Regions from separate parts of the Homo sapiens genome. Here region 1 is linked to region 2. Evidence: promoter capture Hi-C in human tissues and cell types (Jung and others, 2019). All regions are on one chromosome and are shown on one strand. The core of a region is centred on a gene start or on the middle of the fragment in contact, and the rest is flanking DNA. Distances in the headings are between cores, read along the strand shown. Region 1 has its middle 37 kb from the start of CYP4A11. Region 2 holds the start of CYP4A11 (cytochrome P450 family 4 subfamily A member 11).

What was found. The method cuts DNA at HindIII sites, captures the fragments that hold promoters and counts their contacts. A contact is called where the count stands out against the background at its distance.
Region 1: a contact is called between a fragment that was not itself captured here and the fragment with the promoter of CYP4A11 in region 2, in 4 of the 25 tissues and cell types used here (aorta, liver, ovary and 1 more).

Annotation. Positions count from the first base shown.
Region 1 is chr1:46,975,732-46,981,825 of GRCh38, forward strand. It overlaps a transcript of CYP4X1 not described here. Among named protein-coding and RNA genes, the nearest start is that of CYP4A11, 37 kb to the left of the region's middle. The HindIII fragment of the contact is 5,350 bases long and covers 1,309-6,094 here.
Region 2 is chr1:46,937,767-46,944,080 of GRCh38, forward strand. CYP4A11 (cytochrome P450 family 4 subfamily A member 11) reads right to left here and starts at 3,710. Exons shown (of 12, transcript NM_000778.4): 1 at 3,473-3,710; 2 at 230-371. The coding sequence starts at 3,667. The HindIII fragment of the contact is 9,397 bases long and covers 2,161-6,314 here.

The sequences.
Region 1 (6,094 bases), core at 2,734-5,233, 38 kb after region 2:
TTTTGTGAACAATATTCTCAAATAAGTTTTCCAAGTTGCTGTTCTCTCTCCCTGTCTTTCATGCATGTTGGTGAGTCATGGACTTGGGCTCTTTACATAATCCTATATCTCTCTAATTTTGTTCATCAAAAAAATTTTTTTTCTTTATTTTTATTTGAGTTAATTCTAAGAACTGGTCTTTGAGCTCTGAGATTCTTTCCTCAGCTTGGTCTATTCTGCTGTTGATAATTCCAATTGTGGGATCCATTCCAAGATGGCTAAATAGTAACAGCTCTGGTCTGCAGCTTCTCGTGTGATCGATGCAGAAGATGGGTGATTTCTGCATTTCCAGCTGAGGTACCTGGTTCATCTCATTGGGACTGGTTGGACAGTGGATGCAGCCCATGGAGGGCAAGCCAAAGAAGGGTGGGGCATCACCTCACCTGGGAAGTGCAAGGGGTCTGGGGATTTCCTTTTCCTAGCCAAGGGAAGCCGTGACAGGCTGTACCAGGAAAATTGGGACACTGCCACCTAAATACTGCACTTTTCCAAAGATCTTAGCAAAAGGCATATCAGGAGATTATATCCCACGCCTGGATCCGTGGGTCCCATGCCCATGGAGCCTTGCTCACTGCTAGCACAGCAGTCCGAGATTGAAGTGCTAGGTGGCAGCCTGGCTGAGGGAGGGGCATCCACCATTGCTGAGGCTTGAGTAGGTAAACAAAGCAGCAGGGAATCTCGAACTAGGTGGAGCCCACCGCAGCTCAATGAGGCCTGCCTGCCTCTGTAGACTCCACCTCTGTAGGCATGGCATCGCTGAACAAAAGGTAGCAGAAACTTCTGCAGACTTAAACATCCCTGTCTGACAGCTCTGAAGAGAGCAATGGTTCTCCCAGCATGGTGTTTGAGCTCTGAGAATGAACAGACTGCCTCCTCAAGTGGGTCCCTGACCCCACTGTAGCCTAACTGGGAGACATCTCCCACTAGGGGCCAACACACACCTCATACAGCTGGGTGCCCCTCTGAGATGAAGCTTTCAGAGGAAGGATCAGGCAGCAATATTTGCTGTTCTGCAATATTTGCTGCTCTGCAGCCTCTGCTGGTGATACCCAGGCAAACAGTGTTGGGAGTGGACCTCCAGCAAACTCCAACAGACCAGCAGCTGAGGGACCTGACTGTTAGAAGGAAAACTGACAGACAGAAAAGAATTGCATCAACATCAACAAAAAGGACACCCACACCAAAACCCCATCTGTAGGTCACCATCATCAAAGGCCAAAGGTAGATAAAACCACAAAGATGGGGAGAAACCAGAGCAGGAAAGCTAAAAATTCTAAAAACCAGGGCACCTCTTCTCCTCCAAAGGATCACAGCTCCTCACTAGTAATGGAACAAAGCTGGACAGAGAATGACTTTGATGAGTTGGCAGAAGTAGGTTTCAGAAGGTCAGTAATAACAAACTTCTCTGAGCTAAAGGAGGATGTTCAAACCCATCACAAGGAAGCAAAAAGCCTTGAAAAGAGATTAGATGAATGGCTAACTAGAATAAACAGTGTAGAGCAGACTTTAAATCACCCAATGGAGCTGAAAACCATGGCACGAGAACTATGTGATACATGCACAAGCTTCAGTAGACAATTCGATCAAGTGGAGGAAAGGGTATCAGTGATTGAAGATCAAATTATTGAAATGAAGTAAGAAGAGAAGTTTAGAGAAAAAGGAGTAAAAAGAAATGAACAAAGCCTCCAAGAAATATGGGACTATGTGAAAAGATCAAATCTACATCAGATTGGTGTACTCGAAAGTGACCGAGAGAATGGAGCCAAGTTGGAAAACACTCTTCAGGATATTATGTAGGAGAACTTCCCCAACCTAGCAAGGTAGGCCAACATCCAAATTCAGGAAATACAGAGACCAACAAAAAGATACTCCACGACAAGAGCACCCCCAAGACACATAATTGTCAGATTCACCAAGGTTGAAATGAGGGAAAAAATGTTAAGACAGCCAGAGAGAACGGTCGGGTTACCAATAAAGGGAAGCCCATCAGACTAACAGCTGATCTCTCGGCACAAACTCTACAAGCCAGGAAAGAGTGGGGGTCAATATTCAACATTCTTAAAAAAAAGAATTTTCAACCCAGAATTTCATATCCAGCCAAACTAAGCTTCATAAGAGAAGGAGAAATAAAATACTTTACAGACAAGCAAATGCTGAGAGATTTTGTCACCACCAGGACTGCCTTACAAGAGCTCCTGAAGGAAGCACTAAAGATGGAAAGGAACAACCAGTACCAGCCACTGCAAAAACATGCCAGATTGTAAAGACCATCAATGCTAGGAAGAAACTGCATCAACTAATGAGCAAAATAACCAGCTAACATCATAATGACAGGATCAAATTCATGCATAACAATATTAACCTTAAATGTAAATGGGCTAAATGCTCCAATTAAAAGACACAGACTGGCAAATTGGATAAAGAGTCAAGACCCATCAGTGTGCTGTATTGAGGAGACCCATCTCATGTGCAGCAACACACAAAGGCTCAAAATAAAGGGATGGAGGAAGTTCTGCCAAGCAAATGGAAAGCAAAAAAAAGGCAGGGGTTGCAATCCTAGTCTCTGAAAAAACAGACTTCAAACCAACAAAGATCAAAAGATACAAAGAAGACCATTACAACAATGGTAAAGGGATCAATTCAACAAGAAGAGCTAACTATTCTAAACATATATGCACCCAATACAGGAGCACCCAGATTCATAAAGCAAGTCCTTAGAGACCTACAAAGAGACTTAGACTCCCACACAATAATGGGAGACTTTAACACCCCACTGTCAATATTAGATGTATCAATGAGACAGAAGGTTAACAAGGATATCCAGGACTTAAACTCAGCTCTGCACCACGCAGACCTAATAGACATCTACAGAACTCTCCACCCCAAATCAATAGAATATACATTCTTCTCAGGACCACATCATATTTATTCCAAAATTGACCACATAGTTGGAAGTGAAGCACCCCTTAGCAAATGTAAAAGAACAGAAATTACCACAAATTGTCTCTCAGACCACAGTGCAATCAAATTAGAGCTCAGGATTAAGAAACTCACTCAAAACTGCACAACTACATGGAAATTGAACAACCTGTTCCTGAATGACTACTGGGTACATAACGAAATGAAGGCAGAAATAAAGATGTTCTTTGAAACCAGTGAGAACAAAGACACAACATACCAGAATCTCTGGGACACATTTAAAGGAGGGTGTAGAGGGAAATTTATAGCACTAAATGCCCACAAGAGAAACCAGGAAAGATCTAAAATCAATCTCCTAACATCACAATTAAAAGAACTAGAGAAGCAAGAGCAAACACATTCAAAAGCTAGCAGAAGGCAAGAAATAACTAAGATCAGAGCAGAACTGAAGGAGATAGAGACACAAAAACCCCTTCAAAAAATCAAGGAATCCAGGAGCTGGTTTTTTGAAAAGATCAACAAAATTGATAGACCACTAGCAAGACTAATAAAGAAGAAAAGAGAGAAGAATCAAATAGACGCAATAAAAAATGATAAAGGGGATATCACCGCTGATCCCACAGAAATACAAACTACCGTCAGAGAATACTATACACATCTCTATGCAAATAAATTACAAAACCTAGAAGACATGGATAAATTCCTGGAGACATACACCCTCCCACGACTAAACCAGAAAGAAGTTGAATCACTGAATAGACCCATAACAGGTTCTGAAATTGAGGCAATAATTACTGGCCTACCAACCAAAAAGAGTCCACAACCAGACAGATTCACAGCCGAATTCTACCAGAGGTACAAAGAGGAGCTGGTACTGTTCCTTCTGAAACTATTCCAATCAATACAAAAAAGAGGGAATCCTCCCTAACTGATTTTATGAGGCCAGCATCATCCTGATACCAAAGCCTGGCAGAGACACAATAAAAAAAGAGAATTTTAGACCAACATCCCTGATGAACATCGATGCGAAAATCCTCAATAATATACTGGCAAACCGAATCCAGCAGCACATCAAAAAGCTTATCCACCAAGATGAAGTTGGCTTCATTCCTGGAATGCAAGGCTGGTTGAACATATGCAAATCAATAAACTTAATCCATCACATAAACAGAACCAATGACAAAAACCACATGATTATCTCAATAGATGCAGAAAAGGCCTTCAACAAAATTCAAGAACTCTTCATGCTAAAAACTCTCAATAAATTAGGTATTGATGGAACATATCTCAAAATAATAAGAGCTATTTATGACAAACCCACAGCCAATATCATACTGAATGGGCAAAACTGGAAGCATTCCCTTTGAAAACTGGCACAAGACAGGGGTGCCCTCTCTCACCACCCCTATTCAACATAGTGTTGGAAGTTCTGGCCAGGACCATCAGGCAAGAGAAAAAAAGAAAGTGTATTCAGTTAGGAAAAGATGAAGTCAAATTGTCCCTGTTTGCAGTTGACATGATTTTATATTTAGAAAACACCATCATCTCAGCCCAAAATTTCCTTAAGCTGATAAGTAACTTCAGCAAAGTCTCAGGATACAAAATCAATGTGCAAAAATCACAAGCATTCTTATACACCAATAACAGACAAACAGAGAGGCAAATCATGAATGAACTCCCATTCACAATTGCTACAAAGAGAATAAAATACCTAGGAATCCAACTTACAAGGGATGTGAAGGACCTCTTCAAGGAGAACTACAAACCACTGCTCAATGAAATAAAAGAGGACACAAACAAATGGAAGAGCATTCCATGCTCATGGATAGGAAAAATCAATATCGTGAAAATGGCCATACTGCCCAAGGTGTAATTTATAGATTCAATGCCATCCCCATCAAGCTACCAATGACTTTCTTCACAGAATTAGAAAAAGCTACTTTAAAGTTCATATGGAACCAAAAAAGAGCCCATATTGCCAAGACAATACTTAGCAAAAAGAACAAAGCTGGAGACATCATACTACCTGACTTCAAACTATACTACAAGGCTACAGTAAACAAAACAGCATGGTACTGGTACCAAAACAGAGATATAGATCAATGGAACAGAACAGAGGCCTCAGAAATAACACCACACATCTACACCATCTGATCTTTGCCAAACCTGACAAAAGCAAGAAATGGGGAAAGGATTCCCTATTTAAAAATAAATGGTGCTGGGAAAACTGCCTAGCCATATGTAGAAAGCTGAAACTGGATCCCTTCCTTGCACCTTATACAAAATTTAATTCAAGATGGATTAAAGACTTAAATATTAGACCTAAAACCATAAAAACCTTAGAAGAAAACCTAGGCAATACCATTCAGAACATAGGCACGGGTAAGGACTTCATGACTAAAACACCAAAAGCAATGGCAACAGAAGCCAAAATTGACAAATGGGATCTAATTAAACTAAAGAGCTTCTGCACAGCAAAAGAAACTACCATCAGAGTGAACAGGCCACCTACAGAATGGGAGAAAATTTTTGCAATCTACCCATCTAACAAGGGCTAATATCCAGAATCTACAAAGAACATAAACAAATTTACAAGAAAAAAATCAGACACTCCATCAAAAAGTGGGCAAAGGATATGAACAGACACTTCTCAAAAGAAGACATTTATGCAGCCAAAAGACACATGAAAAAAAGCTCATCATCACTGGTCATCAGAGAAATGCAAATCAAAACCACAATGAGATACCATCTCACACCAGTTAGAATGGCGATCATTAAAAAGTCAGGAAACAACAGGTGCTGGAGAGGATGTGGAGAAATAGGAACACTTTTACACTGTTGGTGGGAGTGTAAACTAGTTCAACCATTGTGAAAGACAGTGTGGTGATTCCTCAAGGATCTAGAACTAGAAATACCATTTGACCCAGCCATCTCATTACTGGGTATATACCCAAAGGATTATAAATCATGCTACTATAAAGACACATGCACATGTATGTTTATTGCGGCACTATTCACAGTAGCAAAGACTTGGAACCAACACAAATGTCCATCAGTGATAGACTGGATTAAGAAAATGTGGCATATATACACCATGGAATACTATGCAGCTTTAAACAAGGATAAGTTAATGTCC
Region 2 (6,314 bases), core at 2,460-4,959:
AGAGAAATAGAAAAAAGAATAGAAAATTCAGCCCCACATATTGTTTTAAACATTCGGAGTTCAGTAACTATTTTTGACTATAGCCTGGGCATGGTGGGCTTGGTGGATGCGTGGGAGAGGTTTCAGATATTGATGTTTGAACAGCCACTCTCTTCTGGAATTTTACAGACCCAGGAGCATGTGTCAAGAGGGAAGACACATTGCAGTTGGGATGGGGGTTCGATCTCACCTGATCTCCCCAGAATCACCTTCATATAGTCAGGGTCATAGAGCTGGACACGAACTTTGCCTCCCCATAGCCAATGAGGACAGGCACTTGGGAATGTCTCCACCCATTTCTGAATCCGTTGTAGCTCCTGGTCCTGTTGGAGCTGTCAACAAGGGTAGACAGATGAACACTTTCATTTACTTCTAGTCTTTGCAGCAGGAGTGAAGGGCAGGACAACTACAGGAGCCATGTAGCGCAGGTTAGGGATTTAGATCTGTTTCTGATGACCTGAGCTGTGATCCAGATTCTTGCTCTCTCCCCAGGACTTGACCTTAGGCCAAGCGCTATGAGCCCTCGCTCAATGCTGCCAGCAGAAATTTAAGTCAGCCATTGTCTTCATGTTGTGTAACATCTCTGGAAGTCATAAATACAACAATTTCCATGGGCAATGTGTATAACTCATATTAGTTGATAAGTAGATTTGTAAAATCATTTAGTATATCTAGAGAATAAAATGAATTAATGTAAACATTTTAAATTACACAATGCCTTTATATAATCATACTTGTTATATTTTCAATATTATCCCAGCATATACGGTAAATATTTGTTAAGATAAAATAGCATTTGGGATGTGTATTGGTAAGCAAAAAAAGATTAACTATAAAATTGTGTGCATAATAGTATTCTACATGTTGAATATGTACAGATTTATGGGATGGAGTCTGAGTATATGCATATGGTGCTGGTGTTGGACAATAATTTTGAGATTTGGGTTTCTTATTCTCATTTTCACTTATCAACGAATTATGAGCTCCCTGCTGCCTGCAGTCATCTTTCTAAACTCTTCGATGTGGATCACAAAGCCCTTGGCTTTCTGGCTTCAACTTCTCTTTTCTTGCCTCCAGCCCTGCTGGCAATTCCACCATCACCCGTTTGTTTCAGCTCCAATGCCGATGCCACCACTGCTGCTGAATCGCACACCAGCTACACCTGCTCACTCTTCTGGGCCCTGGCACTTGCTCTTTTCTCTACCTTGAATGCCCTTCCCCTCTGCCACAGAGCAGCCACCTCTCCTCAGCTTTCAAGACTCAGCTTTGCTTTAATCTCATCTGGAACCCTCAAAGACATTGGGTCCTAGTGATGTTCCATGTAGCCAACTCTTCTTTATTTCAACTGCTTCTAGTAAATCAAAGCAACTGTCTACCACATAGGTATCGAATATCTGCCCATCTCCTTCTGATAATCATATTGTCCAGCTCTGAGGCAGCTTGCCCTACTGTGGGGTAGGCTCCTTCATTCAGCCCATGCTTACTGCACACATACTATGTGCCCAGTGTGGCTCAGGCACTGCGTTAGGATACAGCTGTGGTCCTTATCTGTGTGGAATTTTCAGTCTAGTTGGGGGGTAAGAAAGATTAGAGGCTGTGCAGTAGGGGATAATGGACATGATATGGAATGAAGGACAAGCATCTGGGGAAGCTTTGAAGAGGGACCTAACTCAGAACTGAACATTAGAAAGCTCTTCCTCACTCACTGAGTCATCATTTACTGAGGGACTATTGGGTTACAAACATAAATCAGAGATGGTCTCTCCCAGAAGAATCCCACACTTATGACACTGCAGAACAATAACTGAGTCAAGTTAACACTGCTCTGGCCTCTTGAGAAGGATAGCTCATGGAAAAAAGAGTCAGCCCTTCACTACTGGGAGACCCAGGAGGCCTTCTTGAAGGAGGTAGCTTGGTGCTGGGCCTTGACAGATAGATATGCGTGAGAAGATAATTCCAGGTAGCAAGCATAGTGTGATCAGAGACCTAAAGGTTGAAATGCAGAGGCAGGTAGTGAGGTAGTGAGTAACATATGGTAAAAGAGGAGAATGGGAAAGAAGGCAGAGTGGTATTGGGACCAGTCCATATAGGGTTAGAACTTTGGCAGGTCCCCACATTTGTTCTGCTCTGCTGAGAACTATGTTGCCTCCTTTGCTGAGAAACAATAGGCCTCAGTTCCCTGCAACCCCTATCTCTACTTAAGTGTGTTCAATTCATAGCACCTTGGTGAGTCCCTCTCCATGCAGCCGTTTACCTGCTCTGTTCCTACCCGCCCCCCTCCCCTTGTAGGGATAGCAGTGCACAGGGGATGGGCTGTGTCCCTCCTCAGCCCTCTTGCTGCTCCTTTCTCTTCTTCCTCTGTTCCTCTACACCTGGTGTGTCCAATCTTTTGGCTTTCCTAGGCCACATTGGAAGAAAAATAATTGTCTTGAGCCATGCATAAAATACACTAACACTAATGATAGCTGATGAACTCAAAAAAATTGCAAAATAATCTCATAACGTTTTAAGAAAGTTTACGAATTTGTGTTGGGCCACATTCAAAGCCATCCTGAGCTACATGCAGCCCCATGGGGCGTGGGTTGGACAAGCTTGCTCTACACACCTGAGCTGATCATCAAGCTGTGCCAGGATTTTGCTGATTGCCGGGGCACAGGAAGGGGATGACATGCTCACCGCCAGGGAGCTCACAGTCCGGGTGTGTGGGAGGAGAGCCAGGAGGTCAACACACCCTGTTCAATGTGCAACTCAAACACCAGTCTCCTCACCTGGAGAACATTGTGCAGGCTGCCCCCCTCATGTGTACCCATAATTGTCAGGTTTTCAGATCCTAAATCACCTGTTGTGGAAATTCCGTGAGTCTTGGGGAAACTTACTTAGCCAGTTGGTCCCCTATACCAGCAGATCTCTGCCTCAGATATCCACCCCAGCAGAGTGAGCTCCTTTCCTGCAGTCTGACACCTTCTCAAATTCCTGCCTGTATTCTTCACAGACCATAAACTCCTCATGGCATGGATTCCTCAGATGGGTGTCTGTGCTCCCTGGCAAACACAGGGCCAGGCAGAGTGATGGCATTGAGTGACTGGGCAGAGAGCATCTAGAAGCCTTGTTCTTTGATGAAAGCCAAGGCTTATGGGGTAATCAGTCTGGAGACAATCAGGCATTGCCCTCCACATGCAGGACTGCCAAGACACACTTGATATCTGCAGAAGGAGGGCACGGGTGATAGAGCTGAGGACCAGCAGGATGGGCTTCATGGGAGAAGTGAGCTCCTCATGACTGGGAAAAGCTGAGACCAGAGAGGTAGGCTGGGTGTTCCTTTGAGTCCTCACATTTGTTACAAAACAAGGCTTTGCTCTATGGATTTTGTGACCAGGGTCTCAGAGCCCCATCCCTCTTTGCCCTCCCACTCCCCCATTGAGTTCCTCCCTACCTCCTGGATGTGCCCGAAGAGCCAGTGGGAGGGAGGGCACGGGAACTGCTGGAGGGCTTTGAGCAGCCACTGCCTGTGCAGGTAGAGCTGAACTGCCTTGATCAGCAGCAGAAGCAGAATGAGCAGGGAGGCCGCTTGGAGGATTCCAGAGACATCACCCAGGAGTCTGCTGGGGCTCAGCACAGAGACACTCATGGTGCAGCACCTGCTGGATCTCTGAGTGCCCCTACCTCTCTCTGACCACCCCCGTCCCCCTGTGCTCAAATCCAGGGAGGATTGTCCCGCCCACTTGTGGGGAGAGTGAAGGAGGAGGGCAGAACTTGGACCTCAGAGTTCAGAATCAATTGACTATGGATGATCCACCTAGGGCAACAGTGGGAGAAAAGCTTCATCAGCTGTCTACCACATTCCCCTGTCCATGTACCTCACAAATATTTAATGAGCATTTACTGTGTGCCAGGCAGTATGCTAGGTGTGTGGGCACCGCTGCGAGGAAAACAGACTTGAATGCTGACCTCAAGGAATTTGCATTCTGCTTTACTACATTGCAATAATGTTCATTCAGTAGCACTTTTTTTTTGTTATGTGTTCAAAGAAAATTCTCAACATGATATGTACATTTAAACTTAACATTAACCAAGCCCTGAATCATTACTTTTGTCTTATTGCAAATCTAATTTTATTTACCATAAAAACCACTTCCATCTATATATTGAGTGAAGAGTGGGAATTATGTCTTTCTAGTAACTGGATGATGATATGGACAAACAGATGCTAATATAGCAGCTGTTCAAGTACTTTATTTTATTCCATTGGGGAAACTGGTCTCATAATATGCATAGCATGATTTTTTTTCTCAATTCATATACATGACAATTTAAAAAAATTCTACATCATGTTAGGTATGACTTTTTCCCCTATTGATAGGTCTACCTTTTCTACCAGAGTAAGTCCTAGAGCAATTTTAGTCCTACTTCAGTCTAGTACTATAGTCACAGCAGGAGCCTGTTTACCAATTCTCTTTCACCCTACAATAGTATGTAATTACACAATCAGAACTTTGCACTCTGTTTAGGAGTCCTGACCAAGGACAATCTGTACTAAACAGAAATTAATATTTAAAAAATGATTGCTTTGCCAACCTCAAGTAAAGTAGGTTAAATAGCAACTGTTGCTATGAATTAACCCTCCCTGGCATTTTTACATGCATATCTGTGCATGAGCATTCTTTTTTTCCTCTTTTTATAATTTCAACTTTTATTTTAGATTCAGGTACGTATGCAGGTTTTTTACACTGGTGTATTGTGTGATGCTGAGGGTTTGGATACAAATGATTCTGCCACTCAGGTAGTGAGTATGGTATATATTAGTCAAATTTCCAATGCTTACTCATATCTGTACCTACCCCTTTAGTAGTCCCCAGTGTCTATTGTTCCCATATTTATGTCCATAAGTATCCAAAATGTAGTTCCCACTTATAAGTGAGAACATGCGGTATTTGGTTTTCTGTTGCTGTGTTAATTTGCTTAGGATTATTGCCTCCCAATTCATCCATGTTGCTGCAAAGAACATGATTTCTTTATTTTTTTATAGCTGTCTAGTATTCCACTGTGTATATGTATCACATTTTCTTTATCCAGTCCACCATTGATGGGCACCAAGGTTGATGCCATGTCTTTGCTATTGCGAATAGTGCTGTGATGAATGTATGAGTAGAGGTGTCTTTTTGGTAGAGCAACTTATTTTCTTTTTGATATATAGCTAATATTGGGATTGCTGGGTCAAATAGTAGTTCTATTTTAAGTTCTTTGAGAAATCTCCAAACTGCTTTCCACAGTGGCGGAACTAATTTACATTTCCACAAACAATGTATACACATTATGTTTTTTTTCTGCAGCTTAGCCAGCATATGTTGCTTTGAAACTTTTTAATAATAGCCATTCTGACTTGTGTGAGATGTGGTTTTGATTCACATTTCTCATTAGTGATGTTGAGCATTTTTAAAAATATTTTTTGGCTGCTCATATGTCTTCTTTAGAGAAGTGTCTGTGTCTTTAATGGGGTTGTTTGTTTTTCGCTTGTATTGGAAGTTCTGGCCAGGTAAGAGAAAGAAGTAAAGGGTATTCAAATAGGAAGAGAGGAAGTCAAATTGTCTCTGTTTGCAGATGACATGACTGTATATTTAGAAAACCCCATCATCTCAGTCCAAAATCTCCCTAAGCTGATAAGCAACTTCAGCAAAGTCTCAGGATACAAAATCAATGTGCAAAAATCACAAGCATTCCTACACACCAATAATAGAGAAACAGAAAGCCAAATCATGAGTGAACTCCCATTCACAATTGCTACAAAGAAAATAAAATACCTAGGAATACTGCTTACAAGGGATGTGAAGGACCTCTACAAGGAGAACTACAAGCCACTGCTCAACAAAATGAAAGAGGACACAAAGAAATGGAAAAAAATTCCATGCTCATGGATAGGAAGAAACAATATAGTAAAAATGGCCGTACTGCCCAAAGTAATTTATAGATTCAATGCTATTCCCATCAAGCTACCATTGACTTTCTTCACAGAATTAGAAAAAACTACTTTAAATTTCATATGGAATAAAAAAAGAGCCCCCATTGCCAAGGCAATCCTAAGCAGAAAGAACAAAGCTGGAGGCATCATGCTACCTGACTTCAAACTACACTACAAGGCTACAGTACCCAAAACAGCATGGTGCTGGTACCAAAACAGATATACAGACCAATGGAACAGAACAGAGGCCTCAGAAATAACACCACTTATCTACAATTATCTGATCTTTGATAAACCTGACAAAAACAAGCAATGGGGA